3 separate regions of the Homo sapiens genome follow, and regions 1 and 2 are each linked to region 3. The links are contacts of gene promoters, found by promoter capture Hi-C in blood cells and fetal thymus (Javierre and others, 2016). All regions are on one chromosome and are shown on one strand. The core of a region is centred on a gene start or on the middle of the fragment in contact, and the rest is flanking DNA. Distances in the headings are between cores, read along the strand shown.

What was found. The method cuts DNA at HindIII sites, captures the fragments that hold promoters and counts their contacts. A CHiCAGO score of 5 or more calls a contact.
Region 1: a fragment that was not itself captured here is called in contact with the fragment with the promoter of PTER in region 3 in 1 of 17 cell types (endothelial precursors); the score reaches 6.0 in endothelial precursors.
Region 2: a contact is called between the fragment with the promoter of TRDMT1 here and the fragment with the promoter of PTER in region 3, in 4 of 17 cell types (non-activated CD4 T cells, total B cells, total CD8 T cells and 1 more). The highest score is 9.8, in non-activated CD4 T cells.

What each region holds. Positions count from the first base shown.
Region 1 is chr10:15,896,760-15,899,459 of GRCh38, forward strand. No RefSeq gene overlaps it. Among named protein-coding and RNA genes, the nearest start is that of MINDY3, 38 kb to the left of the region's middle. The HindIII fragment of the contact is 2,291 bases long and covers 231-2,521 here.
Region 2 is chr10:17,200,361-17,203,060 of GRCh38, forward strand. TRDMT1 (tRNA aspartic acid methyltransferase 1) reads right to left here and starts at 1,312. Exons shown (of 11, transcript NM_004412.7): 1 at 1,211-1,312. The coding sequence starts at 1,274. RefSeq lists a silencer at 950-1,009. The HindIII fragment of the contact is 5,194 bases long and covers 701-2,700 here.
Region 3 is chr10:16,435,662-16,438,361 of GRCh38, forward strand. PTER (phosphotriesterase related) reads left to right here and starts at 1,349. Exons shown (of 5, transcript NM_001261836.2): 1 at 1,349-1,386. RefSeq lists a silencer at 1,224-1,273 and enhancers at 1,694-1,873, 1,894-1,943. The HindIII fragment of the contact is 4,684 bases long and covers 1-1,670 here.

The DNA of each region.
Region 1 (2,700 bases), core at 126-2,625, 540 kb before region 3:
TCATGTTAATACCCACTTCATGCTAATGAAAAGGTGTGTTGTTCAGGAAATAGCTAGAAAATAGGCAGTAACTTTTGGGTGTTGCCATGGTGATGGTAAACTGTCATGGCGCTGGTAGGTGTGTCTTATGGAAAGGTGTTTTTTGTGCCTCTTCCAGGTTTTGGCCAGTCTTCAATCTGTTCCAGAGTCAAGCCCCACCTACCTTCTACCTCAGCTGGGAAGATCAGTAAAGCTTCCATGGTTGCAATGCATGGGTGGGGGGTTGATATTTGAAGGTTTCCCAGGATATAAACTCCCCACACCCTATGGTTAAAATAGAATTTGACAAGGCGCTTCATTCGACATTGTATTTCCCATGCAGAGTATCCTGCCTGAACATGGTAGGTGTTAAGAAGCATTTTTTTTAATTGAATAAAAATTCTTTTTGAGGAATTTAGATATTTCAGAAGTTAATTTATAGAAGCCCTAAAACTTCCCATTACCTTATCGTGGTATGGATTTTTAAAATATTTAGGGGAGATGACATTATGTTCCTTTAAATATTACTATTTTGATTTTTGAGCCTTCCTGTTTAAAAATGTTGACCTGTCTTCTTGGTAGTCAGGAATCTTGAAAGCTCAGGCTTCTCCATTTCATTACCTCATAGATTTTGCCAGAAAATGCTACTCTACGAGGAAAGTAGCAGAGCTGAAACTTCAAATAGAATCTCATGAGTCATACACATGTCTGCTAACAGGAGGGAGAACAGGATGGACTCATGAGTAGGGACAGTCATGCAAAGGGAGTTACTTGATTTTTTTTCTTCTCCTCTTAATCAGGAAATAGTCGTTCCTGCTCCGCATTTATTATTTTTTTAAACAATATATTCCTCTGACAAGAAGTTAATGATGAGTCACTTCTAGGAGGCAGAAATTTGATTTTCTAAATACTTAGTTCTTTGTAGTTAGCAGAGATCCAACAGTGACATTTAAAAATTATTCTGTTTCTGTAACTTGGACACTCTTTAAACTAAGAGGACTATGTATGTGGAATGGTGTACACCTACGTGATAATTCATGTCAACCATGCACTTACTACAAAATCTCAAATGCTTCCCTACATAAATCAGTTCTGAGACCCAAGAAGCCAACTCATTAAAATTTACTTGAGATTCCTGTAACCTTTTCTCAGGAAGCAACAGCAGGTAAAAAATGTGCAGCTTTTTAAAAAACAAATGTGTGCAAAACTTCAATTCTAGTCTATAAAAAAATCTTTTTTTTTGTGGGTAGTTGAAAAGCCTGGCAGAGGGTGGGTGGGAAAGTCATGAAAGTTTGGAAGGATGACATAGTAGATTATGGTGAATTAGAAATTTGTCACAGAATATCGATGGAAGAGATGCCGGGTTGAGTCAGATTTTCTCAGTGCCGAGATGATGGTTGAGTTAACAAATTAGGTTCCTTTGAAAATTGCACTAATATTTTTGGCCACTAGGTCGTTAGAATTTGCTTCTCCCCAAACAGTAAGGATAATAGTGAGTCAGTCTGCATATGCTGAAGCTGGTATTATACTATTTATTGCTAGTGACATTGTCAATGTCTGGATGGCTGCTGTTTGCAGGAATCTCATGCCATTCCCTTGCTTGATAACTACCAAGGGCTCTGTATCAACTACAGAATACAACCAAATCCCTTAGCATGATGTGCAAGGCCCTCTACCATCTGATATGCTGCTTAGATTTTAGTATCTCGTGCTAGTACCCATCTGGGTCCCATGTCAAGTTTCAGACACATCTCTTATATCTTCAAGAGTTCTCCATTCTTGCACTCACCACAGTAAAGACATATTTATAAGTCAATCTCCTTGGGGGCAGGGACTATGGTTTATTAATCTTTGTAGTAATCGCATCTGGTACATGGAGTGCTATAGATGTTTGTTAAATTAATAAGTATATGTTCTATCTTCTTCTCTCTTTTTTTTTTTTTTTTTGAGACGAAGTTTCACTCTTGTTGCCCAGGCTGGAGTGCAATGGTATGATCCCGGCTCACCACAACTTCTGCCTCCCAGGTTCAAGCAATTCTTCTGCCTCAACCTCCCAAGTAGCTGGGATTACAGGCATGTGCCACCATGCCCGGCTAATTTATGTATTTTTGGTAGAGACGTGGTTTCTCCATGTTGGTCAGGCTGGTCTCGAACTCCTGATCTCAGGTGATCCGCCCGCCTCAGCCTCCGAAAGTGCTGGGATTACAGGTGTGAGCCACTGCACCTGGCCATGTTCTATCTTCTTTTAATATATAGCATAACTACCAACTAAGTAACACACTTGGCATGCAGTAGGCAGAATTCTAGAGAAGACCCCAATAGTCCTTACCTTTGTGTAATTCTATTCCATTTGAGTGCCGTGGAAAATATGCATATGATGAGATACCACTCCCATGATTATAAATTCTATTATATTATACGGCAAAAAGGGAGAAAATCTAATTACATGAACCCCTTTAAAAGCCAAGTTTTAATGGACTGGTGAAACGAATCAGGGATCCAAAGCTTGGAAAGGGATTTGATGCATCTTTGCTGGTTTCAAAGATGGATGGGACCACTCCCAGCTCCTAGAGGCCAAGGAATGCAGGTGGCCTCTAGGAGCTGAGAGTGGCTTCCAGCTGATAGCCAGCAAGGAAACGGGGACCTCCACTTCTGCCAACAATCTGGATGAGTTTAGACGTG
Region 2 (2,700 bases), core at 62-2,561, 760 kb after region 3:
TTTGCTTTGATGCTGCTAAGTTTTAAAATGAGAAATAAAGATAGCCGGCAAACAAGTACTAAAAACTTAATGATCATTAACCTAGTCTAGAATTGAAACTCAATAAATCTGCTCAAAAAACTTATACGCTAAACCCATTAAATATTGTCTGTATCTTACAGTTACTCTTGTTACTCTTGGTCCTAAATAAGGAAGCAGGGAAGTTTCAGTTCGGTGGTTGTCTTAGTAATTTAAGAATAAACATGCACCTTCAAAGCCTGTTTGTCATTCTGTATCCCCAGCTCCTAGCACAAAATCTGGCACAGAATAGGAGCTCAATAAATAATTTTGAGTGAATATCACCAAAAGTAAAACTTTCAGTTCCAACTCAGCATGAAAGAAATCAAAAACCTCAAAATCAAAGACGTGCATAAAAGTAATAGTTTGCTTGATAATATCTCGTGATGTCGTTTTAAAGTAATAGTGATAATAATGTATAATATTTGGAGTGGTTACAATGTATCAGGCACTAACAAGCACTTGACAGACTTTAATCCTTATAATAATCATTCTCTTTTAAAACCAGGAAACAGGTTCATCACTGTTCACGAAGTAGCCCAACGTCACACTGCCACCAAGCTGGAACTCAGTTCTCTGGCATCTAAACGCAGAACTACAGAAGACACGTTTCTTTCCAACGATCAGACGTCCAAGTTCTTCAAGCTTCCTCTACCATCCTATTTAGCATTCGCAAACTTCTACCTTGAATTGTAGCTATTATCCCTTCCAAGATCCATCTCTCACCAGGGGAGCCCCTGACACTCCCTCCCTCCCCAGCTGGGAAGCCCCCCAGGATGAAGGACCGAGTCTCCATGCTTCTCGGTGGCTGCACACTTAGAATGGGGGCTTGGCACCAGGCGAGGGTCTCGCCCCTTTGATACCCTTTGAGGTTGATTTACTGCCTTGCGAATCCCGACTCCCAACTGGGCCCTTTGAGGCGCCATGTGCGGCCCCTCGAGCCAGACTCGGCGCCAGGAGAAGGGAGTCAGCGTCTGGAGGGGTGGACACGGCGGCGCGCAGGAGCTGTTTCCAGGACAACCGAGGGCCGCCCCACAGTGTCCGCCCCACAGTGTCCGCCCCTTGCGTCTCGCCGCTCCGCCCCTTCCCGGCGCGGGTGCTCCAACCAGCCCCCGTGAGCGAATAGAGAGAGGGGTGCTAGATGGACTCTCACCTCTCAGCGCGTGGTGCATGCCGCCCACGCCGCTGTATAGCTCCAGCACCCGCAGGGGCTCCATCCCCGCGCCTCAGCCGCCGCAGCCCCGGAGCTAGGCCTGCCGGTCCGTCGCTCCTCCTCCCTCCATCGCGCCGCTCCCTCAGCCTCTGGTTCCGCGGCGTTTCAGTTCCCCCGTCTCCTACCGCTCCAGGCTCAGGGCTTCAGAGGGCCTCGCGGCCTGGGGATTGGCAAGGGTCTAGAGGGGAACAAAGGACGGAAAACAATAAGGCTTCCCGAATGAATGGCAGCCACTCTGTAGCCTGATTTACGCTCCATTTCCTTCTTTGGTGTCAGGGGCCTTGATTGGAAAAGAAATCCAGAGTTCAGTAAAGGGGAGAAAACTGCCTTGGTTTCCAAGTGAATTAACACTGGTTAGAAGCCAGAAAAAAATCATTTTTCAGACAAGCTGCTTTTCTGTCACTTAGAAGCCTGAACATTCAAACATTCTTTCCACAGTGTGCCTTGTTTCCTGCCTGCCCTGGGTCAATAGAGAGAAATTAGACCAGCCTCTCCCCTAGAGAAGATTCCAGAATTATAAGTAAGGACACAAGTCCACTCGCAGCAGAGAAAGCCCTGTGTGCGTGCTGATAATACAGAGGATGTTTGTTGTGTCTATTAGTGGGGTTAATTATGTTTTAGCTTGGAAATTACACCTACATAGAATACACAGTGAATATCATGTAGGATTATTTATGGGTCTTTAAGTGCTATGGCCTTGATTCCTCAGGATGATCCAGTAACCAACTGTTAGAGGCTCATGTTGACGAAAAAAGCCAAACTCCGTAAAATGTTTGAAGAGGTTTATTCTGAGCACAAGGTGAGGACCGTGACCCATGACACAACCCCACAGGGTCCTGACAACATGTACCCAAGGTGGTTGGGCTACAGCTTGGGATTATATGGTTTTAGGGAGACATAAGGACATTAACTGGTATATGGAAGGTGTACTTAGTTTGGTCCATAAAGATGGGACAACTCAAAAAGGGGAAGGATTCCAGGTTACAGGTGGATTCAAAGATTTTCTGATTGGCAGTTGGTTGAAAGAGTTAAGTTGTGACCTAAAGACCTGGAATCAATAGAAAGGAATGTGTCTGGGTTAAGATAAGGTGGAGACCAAGGTTCTTATTATGTAGACGAAGTCTCATACGTAACAGGCTTCAGAGAGAATAATTGGCAAATGTCTCTTATCATGTGTAAAAAGATGCCAGACTCTTAGTTAAATATCTCTTGGATCAGGAAAAGACCTGGAAAGGGAAAGGGAGTCTCTATAGAATGTAGATTTTCCCCACAAGAGATGGCTGTGTAGGGCCATTTCAAAAAGTGTCAAAGAAATTTATTTTAGGGTAAAATGCTTTGATTTAGGGCCTGCTATCTTTCATGTGATGCTATACTAGAGTCATGTTGGAATTTTGGTATCTTATTGCTAAGAAGAGTCTGTTATGTCGGTA
Region 3 (2,700 bases), core at 99-2,598:
TGGTTGGGGTTCAGAAAATGATACCCCAAAATGAAGGCCTTAGAAGCAGCTCTCTCTAACCTCATGTCCTCCTGCCTCTGGCCCCTCATTCTAGAAACTGGAATCCCTCTTCCCCAAGGTGATTCACAGAAGCCAGAACCCCTCATCCCCAAAGCCAAGCATAAAACCTAAAAGTTTGACTCTGCGTGTCCCCTGCCTTTCTGTGTCAAAACTGGCGGTAAAGAAATTCTCTGCCCTGCTTTGTTTGACTGTAGGTCATAAGACCCCCATTCCAGAAAGGATCCTGCTCTATACCCAGAAGGAAGGAACACTGCACAGAAAAGCCAAAAAGAATCTAAACAGACAGGGCTTGCTCACTTAGTCTATTGGCATTAGCTCAGACCCTTTTTATGCCATCGTAGTATCTCTTAGGTTGGTGCAGAAGTAATTGCGGTTTTTGCCATTAAAAACCGCAATTACTTTTGCACCAGCTGAATACATGGCGGTCCATACTTTATTGAACCTAAGCGAAAAAATGGACCGTTTCCCCTGCATCTTTGGGTTTTCATTCTGAAGGCTCCCGGATCACATAAAGTTACGATCTAGTATATTTGTATGCCTTTTCTACTGTGAAACTGTCTTTTGTCAGTTGATTTTCAGCAAACTTTCAGAGGACGAAGGAGAGGTTTGCCCTTGGCCCCCTACAATACCTAAAGGTATGACTCTTTACTGTGGCAGCTGCTCCAAGCATCATGTTTTGCCAACAGACTCACACATACTAAGTTTATTTCAGTCACAGCAAGTACCAGGGCCAGTTCAAGTGCTCTAGCACGGCACTCTAATTCTAAAGAGAAGGAAACGCGGCACCGGGGCAGGAAACAGTGACAAGTGGGAACACAAAAACCAAAGTTCTCCGTATGCAGCATGAGGATCCAGAACCCACTGTGACATCAAATTGCCAGAGCACCACCTCCGATTTATTCTTGGGGAAAACCAAAAGAGCTACGGAATGCTCCCTTGTTCCAGACTGTTCTATGGAGAACTGGGATCTGGGGAAAATGCAACAGTTTCTTTCCGTTTGGGGATCTAGCCCCGAATTTTTTTCATTCAGCCAAACTACCGACAGTCAGACAGCGCCTGCAGGAGGGTGTGGCCAGGCAAAAACGCGGGGAACGGCCCCGGACCAGGGTGGGGCGTGGCAAGGGTTTGAAGGGCGTGTCCTACGAAGAGGTAGGGCTTGGCAAGGACCCACGGGGCGTGTCCTAGGACTCGGTGAGGGCGTGACCTCGGGCCAGGGGCGGGGAGAGAACCAGAGGGCGAAGTGGGAGGGCACAGGGGAGACTAAAAAGGCCAGGGAAGTTGGCCTGCCGGAAGTTCCCAGGGAGAAGGCAGCGCGTTGTACCCGAGGTAAGGCTTCTTGGAGTCAGAGCAGGAGCCGGAACTGTGGGCCCAGTAGGAAGAGTGGGGCCCGACGGCGGAGGCCGCGCGGCCAGGGTTCGCTGCAGAGCTCCACGCGAGGGTCCTGCCGGAAGGAAGGATTTTCTAGCCGCTGCGCTTGGGCCCTGCCGCCTCTCCTTAAGTGCTTGAGGGACGTTGCAAAGAGCGCCAGTCCCGTGTGGCGCCAGCTCCCTGTGGCTCGACAGCAATGCCCGGGGGCGTCATCGGGTAGCTGTGCTAAGCCTCCTTTAATAAGCTTTTTTTTTTTTTTTTTTTTAGATTCAGGGTCTGGCTCTGCTTCCCAGGCTAGAGTGCATTTGGCGCGATCACAGCTCACTGCAGCCTCGACCTCCTGAGCTCAAGCGAACTTCCTGCCTCAGCCTCCTGAGCTTCCTGAGTAGCTGCGACTACAGGCACGTGCCACCATGTCCGGTTATTTTTGTATTTTTTGTAGAGAGTGTCTCGCCATGTTGCCCAGGCTGGTTTCGAACTCCTGGGCTCAATCAGTCTGCTGCCTCGGCCTCCCAAAGTGCTGGCATTACAGGTCTATATTTTTTGACAGTTTATAAAAGCCAATTACCAGCGGTCATATGTCTGAGTCCTGTGCACTCTTGCTTAATCCACTCTGCAGCCCTGTGAAGGATTCTAGTGATAACGACAAAGCTAAGGTACAGAAAAATTAGGCCACACTGCTGGAAAGTTTAGAGATGGAAACAAAGTTTAGAGGTGGAGTCTTTCTGACTCCACAGCCAGTGTGCTGTTACTCTCTTAGACTACCTCATTCTTTGTACATCCCAAGTCAACAGGAACTAAAGGTATACCCTTACATAGGCAGTAAGAGGGGTTGCTGATTTAAAGAACTTTGGACCCAGAAAGAGTAGAGCCCTATTCTAGTTCTGGTTCCAGCTCAGTGACTTTCTACAAGTTGGTTTTCTTTTGCTTTTTTTAAAGACAGAGTCTCGCCCTTGCCCAGGCTGGAGTGCAGTGGTGCGATCTCGGCTCACTGCAACCTCCGCCTCCCGGGATCAAGCGATTCTCTTGCCTCAGCCTTCTGAGTGGCTGGGACTACAGGCGCGCTCCACCACACACAGCTAATTTTTGTATTTTTAGTAGAGACGGGGTTTCACCATACTGGCCAGGCTGATCTCGAACTCCTGACCTTGTGATTCACCCACCTCGGCCTCCTAAAGTGCTGGGATTACAGGCGTAAGCCACCGCGCCCGGCCTCTTGCTTTTTAAGACTAGGTCTCATTATTTCACCAAAGCTGGAGTGCAGTGGTGCTA